Linked DNA regions of Homo sapiens: region 2 is linked to region 1. Evidence: promoter capture Hi-C in 16 types of primary human blood cells and fetal thymus (Javierre and others, 2016). All regions are on one chromosome and are shown on one strand. The core of a region is centred on a gene start or on the middle of the fragment in contact, and the rest is flanking DNA. Distances in the headings are between cores, read along the strand shown. Region 1 holds the start of ATP1A3 (ATPase Na+/K+ transporting subunit alpha 3). Region 2 has its middle 23 kb from the start of LYPD4.

The links. The method cuts DNA at HindIII sites, captures the fragments that hold promoters and counts their contacts. A CHiCAGO score of 5 or more calls a contact.
Region 2: a fragment that was not itself captured here is called in contact with the fragment with the promoter of ATP1A3 in region 1 in 2 of 17 cell types (non-activated CD4 T cells and activated CD4 T cells); the score reaches 5.7 in non-activated CD4 T cells.

Annotation. Positions count from the first base shown.
Region 1 is chr19:41,992,702-41,996,066 of GRCh38, forward strand. ATP1A3 (ATPase Na+/K+ transporting subunit alpha 3) reads right to left here and starts at 1,529. Exons shown (of 23, transcript NM_152296.5): 1 at 1,370-1,529. The coding sequence starts at 1,375. RefSeq lists a silencer at 1,263-1,702. The HindIII fragment of the contact is 18,418 bases long and covers 1-3,365 here.
Region 2 is chr19:41,819,942-41,823,130 of GRCh38, forward strand. No RefSeq gene overlaps it. Among named protein-coding and RNA genes, the nearest start is that of LYPD4, 23 kb to the right of the region's middle. The HindIII fragment of the contact is 5,205 bases long and covers 1-3,189 here.

The sequences.
Region 1 (3,365 bases), core at 279-2,778:
TGTCTCTTTGTCTCTATGTCCATGTCTCTTTCTCTGTCTCTTTCAGAGCATCTCTGTCTTTCCATGTGTCTCTGTCTTTCCTTCCCATGTCTAAGCTGCCTTCATTTCTCCTCTCGTCCCCACTCCGTTTCCTAAGACCACCTCCCTCTAACTTCCTTCTCTAGGGCTTTTAGCATCAGTCTTCTCCCAATCCATCCACAGCTTCCCTCCCTCCATCCCACTTACCTGACAGCCATCACTGACTACCCCTTTCTCCCTTCTCTCCCCTAGTCCTGCCCCAACCCAATCCTCCTTCCCAGCCCCCCGGCCCACCCTGCCCCACCCCACAGATCTGCAGCCCCATCCCCCACCTCCATCCCTGGGCCCATCAGCCTTTATCCGCCATCTTTCTCCCCAGCCCTCCTATTCTCCCTCCACTGGCCTCTCCCGCCCTCTTCATCCCACCTACCCCCACCCACCCCCTCCTCTCCTGATTCCCCCTCCCTTCAGCCCCGCCCCAGACACACAGGGAGGAATCCAGGGCTGCAGCAAGGGTCAGGTGGTCAGCCAGGGAGGGAGGCGGCATCTGCTGGAGAGACTCACAGACAGACAAGGACACACGGACACAGAGGCAAGGACACAGCCAGGCATGCACGCTCCCCACTACACAGTTGCACACGCACACCCTCAGCTGTGCACTCAGTCTCCCCACCGTGGCTCTCCTGTTCCTCTCCTCCTCCCAGCCTCCCATGCCTGCTCCCCTACATGAGGGGCTGCACACACACACACTGCAGCCCCAGGCTGCGACACTGCGGAGCCTGCACACACACACACACACACACACACACACACACACACACACACACACACTGCGGAGTCCCCCCATCCAGGCCTGGAAGGAGAAAGAGAGGTCATCTGGTGTCCATCCCACAACGTGGACCTATCCGCACCCTGCCAGGGAAGCAGGGGGGCCTCAATAACCCCAGACGCACTAACACGAGCTCTCACAGACACACCCAGACGCGATCGCAGACTTTCAGACACCACGGGGCCCACACACTCGCTGCCAGGGCCTGACAGAGCCAGCAGCTCTCATACGCACATGCAACTGTGCACATGCAACCGCACAAGGTCAGGCGGAGATGCTGAGGGCTGGCCCACAACCTCGCGGATCTCCGCACACAAAGCCATGCCAACGTGCGCCACAGACCCCCCGCCGCCCCCTGCGGCCCCACGACCACATGGATTGGCTGGGTCAGCCGGCTCCCCGGGTCTCGCAGGCCTGGCCCCGGAGCGCAGGGGTCCCGGTGCCCCCGCCCCCCGCGCACACCCAATGTCACCGGCCCCACAATGTCACACGGAAGCGGCGCCCAGCCGGCTCAGCACCTACCCCCATCTTGGCGGCTCCGCGGCGAGAGAGCCAGGCGGGCGGGGCGGGGACCTCGGGGCGGGCTCAGGCTCAGGCTTGGGCTGGGAGCCTCTGCAGCGCCCGCGCCTCGGTAGGTGCGCGCGTCCGTCCGTCCGTCCGTTGGTCCCACCGCACAGAGGCTGCGGCGGCCGCCGCCTCCGCCTCCTCATATGCCCGCGTCCGCGGGAGGGGGGCGGCGCTGGCCAATCAGGGGCGCCGCCGTGCTGACGGACGGCCCGCGGCCCCGCCCCTGGTACTGCAGCTGTCCTCCCCTTGGGCTCCGCAAAGTGGCGGCGCGGCCGCGAAGGGGGAGCGCTGCGGGGGTGGGGGGATTCCCAGAGACCTCCGCAATAGGGGACTTGGAGACCCCCTCAATATGGAGTAGGGCCTCCAAGAAGGGGCGCTCAGGGAAAGAAAACCCCGGAAATCCTCTCATTGTGGGGGTGTGCCATCACCGAGAAGGGTACGCTGGGGGAGGGGGGGCGGGTAGTGACACGGGGTGGGAGGGAAGCCCGGTGAATCACTGCAGTGTGGCACCAGGGACCCTGGAGACGGCGGGGGGTAGTGCTGTTCAGGGAGAGGGCCCTGCAGGAGGGGAAGTTGGAAGGGAACACAAGAGAGCAAGAAAGGCCTTGCAATTGAGGAGGGGTGCTGGCGGGAGGAGCCCTGAGATTCCCTCACTGTGGGTGCCCCCCCACTACGCCTGAGCTATCCAATGAGCCACAACCACACAGGGTACACGGGAGACACAACACGGTGGAGGATGGCCCCAGGAGGCCCAGAAAATGCCCAGCGTCACAGTTACACAGGACCATCACACTGATAGCCCAGATGCTGGGGACACGCACACACCACAGGGTTGCACTCATATTCCACCATAGGCCAGCATGTACCCTCACACACACAACACCACCCCACCACACACAGAGTCTCAAACATAGAGTGAAACACACATAGGGCACACACCTTACACACCCATCACACCACAAGAGACTCATAATCACAGCCACAAAGTGCTGTGCGGACTAACACCGACACTCAGAAAATCGCAGACTCACACATCACACACTCTACCACACCTGACCTCCCACCATCTCACATAGAAACCCACATCGTGCAACCCATAAACCAACACACACCTGCACTCAGCACCATCACACACGCACAGGCCTCACACTGCCTCCAGACACACTACATCAGCCTTTGTGGACATCGTTGCATGATCCCACGATGTCGCACACATCCTCACACACACTGCTCCCCAGTGTGTTTGGGCATGAGCAACGGCCCACAGTGCAAAGTTGCCAATGCTAACTGTGAATGACAGACAAAAAGGTGCACACACTTACACATAGCACAATAATTCAAACACAAGTCACGCGACACCCACACACCTCCCACACATACACACATCACGTTATTGCAGCACTATCGCAGACATCTTTGTTGCACCTCCAAACACACCCCAACGCCCTCACCCACATGACACACAGAGCTCGTCACAGTATATGTACACACACAGATGCACAGCCGGCACCCACACCCCAGGCCTGCTGCCGACACACAACACCCCATCAGCCACCCCACTGGAGCCCAAGAAGTTGAGGCCTCCCCACTCACTCCAACACCACTTTGTTCTATGAGGAACACCCCAGACTCTCCCTGGGGATGGTAGAAGGGGAAGAGAGAGAGAGAGAGACAGAGAGCATTTGACCTTGTAGTTTTCTCAGAATGTGGGTATCCTCTCCACCTATGGGATAGGAGATGTGGGGGACGCAGGCAAGGGACAGGGAGTGAGCTTGGTGTATGAGGGTGGGTGGGTGAAGGTCGAGGACCTGGTGCAGGGAAATGTGTGAAAGGCTGAAGGCCAGAGAGAGGCACAGAAACACAGAGATTCAGAGCCACAGCATATGGACAGAGACAAGGCCAGAGAGTGAATGGAGGCTTTCCCCAGTGCCCAGAGCCCCATCCCAATCCT
Region 2 (3,189 bases), core at 167-2,666, 170 kb before region 1:
GGTTCAAGCAATTCTCCTGCCTCAGCCTCCCAAGTAGCTGGGATTACAGGCGCCCACCACCATGCCTGGCTAATTTTTGTATTTTTAGTAGAGACAGGGTTTCGCCTTGTTGGCCAGGCTGGTCTTGAACTCCTGACCTCAGGTGATCTGCCCGCTTCAGCCTCCCAAAGTGCTGGGATTACAGCTGTGAGCCACCGCACCTGGCCCTATTTCTTACTTTCTAGTCCATATGTATTTATTTCCTTTTCTTGCCTTATTCCAGTGCTGAAACTTCCAGTAGTATATTGAATAAGGATGATGAGAGTGGGCACCCTTGCCCTTTTCTTAGTATTAGAGGGAAAACATTCAGTCTTACACCATTGAAAGTGCAACCAGGCATGGTGGCTCACACCTGTAATCCCAGCACTTTGAGCGGCCAAGTTGGGCAGATAACTTGAGGTGAGGAGTTCGAGACCAGCCTGGCCAACATGGTGAAACACCATCTCTACCAAAAATACAAAAAAAAAAAAAAAAATAGTCGAGTGTGCTGGCCTGCACCTGTAGTCCCAGCTACTCAGGAGGCTGAGGCAGGAGAATCACCTGAACCTGAAAGGAGGAGGTTGCAGTAAGTGGAGATGGTGCCACTGCATTCCAGCCTGGGTGACAGAGCAACCCCTATCTCAAAAACAAAAAAATTTTTAAGGAATGATGTTAAATGACAGAAGATGAGAAAGACAGCAGAGTAAGTCTCTCCAGCCATTATCTCCCAGCAGAAACATCCATTTGAGCAACTATCCACACACAAAATTACTTTCACAAGAGCCAAAAAAAAAAAAAAAACTCGAACACACGAGTGAAGCTGGGAAGCGCCCTTGGACCACAAAGACAAGCAAAACCACGGTTGGAAGGTAAAGGGATCAGTTCTCTGTGCTTGCAACATGCCTCCCCTCAAGCCATTATGGCACCACACGTGGAAACTCCCCATGGACCCATGATTTTTACACTGGAAAAACTGAGCTAGGGGTGGACATACAGATTCCCCATCATTCCGGGCCCCTCCACAAAAGACTCACTCCTGTATTGGCCCATAGAGAACACTGCAAGTACCTAAGGCCAGTTAAAGACAAAAAGAAGGGGTGGGGTTGGGCAGCCACTGCAAGGAATTTGGCAGTGGCTCTCCATCCCTGCCAGAGGAGATGCTGCACCAAAGACACTGTTTACAGAAACCATGCTGCAGGAAGCATGGTCCACAGATCCTCTGGCCTTGAGGGCCTGGCTGGTTCTCCACAGGGCCCAGGTGCCCTCTGTGGCTCTCCCACCTGCCCCATCCAGGTCCGACATTTCATCAGCAGTGAAGCTAGTGCCAGACTCGCCTCTAACCTGGGCTTAGGGTACCCCCTAGTGTTGAAATGGAAGACAACAGTCAGTCCACTCACAATTTCTAAATAAGCCCACTGAAATAGAATGGTCACAAACAAACTCAGGCTGTAAAGACCGTAATAAACACCTAATTCACCAATGCATAGATAGAGACGCAGATCTAGGAATAAGAATAGCCTAGGAACGTGCCTCGTCAAATAGACAGAACAAAATGCCAATGAATTATCCTAAAAACATGCAAATGAATGGTCTGGCAGGCAAAGAATTCAAAACGGCTGTTTTAAGAAAACTCAGAGAACTTAAAGAAAACATAGAGAAACAATTCAGACGTTTGTCAGAGAAATGTAACAGCGAAAGTAAAATAATAAGAAACAAACAGAAACCTTGAAGCTGAGAAGTACAATATGAAATGAAAAATGTGCCGGGCGCGGTGGCTCATGCCTGTAATCCCAGCACTCTGGGAGGCCGAGGCGGACGGATCACGGGGTCAGGAGATCGAGACCATCCTGGATAACACGGTGAAACCCCGTCTCTACTAAAAATACAAAAAATTAGCCGGGCGTGGTGGCGGGAGCCTGTAGTCCCAGCTACTCGGGAGGCTGAGGCAGGAGAATGGCGTGAACCCGGGAGGCGGAGCTTGCAGTGAGCCGAGATCGGGCCATTGCACTCCAGCCTGGGCGACAAAGCAAGACTCCGTCTCAAAAAAAAAAAAAAAAATGTGTCGGGCATAGTGCTGCATGACTATAGTCTCAGTTATTCAGGAGAATGAAGTGAGAGGATCACTTGAGTCCAGGAGTTTGAGACCAACCTGCTCAATATAGTGAGACCCCCGTCTCTGAAAAAATAAAAAATGTACTGTGTTCATGGACTGGAAGAATTAATATTGTTAAAATGTCCATACTAACCATGATGAACTACAAATTCAACTCAGTCTCTAGCAATATTTCAATGGCATTCTTCACAGAAGTAGAAATATAGGCCATTCGCAGTGGCTCGCGCCTGTAATTTCAGCACTTTGGGAGGCCACAGTGGGTGGATCACTTGAGGCCAGGAGTTAAACTACACTGACCAACCTGGCCAATCCCATCTGTACTAAAATACAAAAATTAGCCAGGCACGGTGGTGCATGCCTGTAACCCCAGCTACTCAAGAGGGTGAGGCAAGAGAATTGCTTGAACATGGGAGGCCGAGTTTGTAGTGAGCCAAGATGGCGCCACTGTACTCCACCCTGGGCAACACAGCAAGACTCTGTCTCAAAAAAAAGAAAAAAGAAAAATGCTCCCAATACTCTGGGAGGCCGAAGCAGGTGGATTACCTGATGTCAGGAGTTCGAGACCAGCCTGGCCAACATGGTGAAACCCCATTTCTACTAAAAACACAAAAATGTGCTGGGTGTGGTGGTGTGCACCTATAATCCCAGCTACCTAGGAGGCTGAGGCTGGAGAAATTTTTTATTTCCTTATTAATTTCTTCATTTACCCATTGGTGGCTCAGTAGTATGTTGTTTAATTTCCATGTGCTGGTGTGTTTTCTGGGATTCCTCTCATTATTAATTTCTAGTTTTATACCCCTGTGGTAAGAAAAATATACTTACGCCCTGCCTGGTGGCTCACGCCTATAATCTCAACACTTTGGGAAGCCAAGATGGGAAGATCACTTGAGGCCAGGAGTTCAAGACCAGCCTGAACAACATAGTGAGATTCCATCTCCACAAAAGTAAAAAAAAAAATTAGCTGGGCATTGTGGGGCACTCCTGTAACCCCAGCTATCTGGGGGGCTGAGCGAGGAGGATCATTTGAGCCCAGGAGTTGGAGGCTGCAGTGAACTATG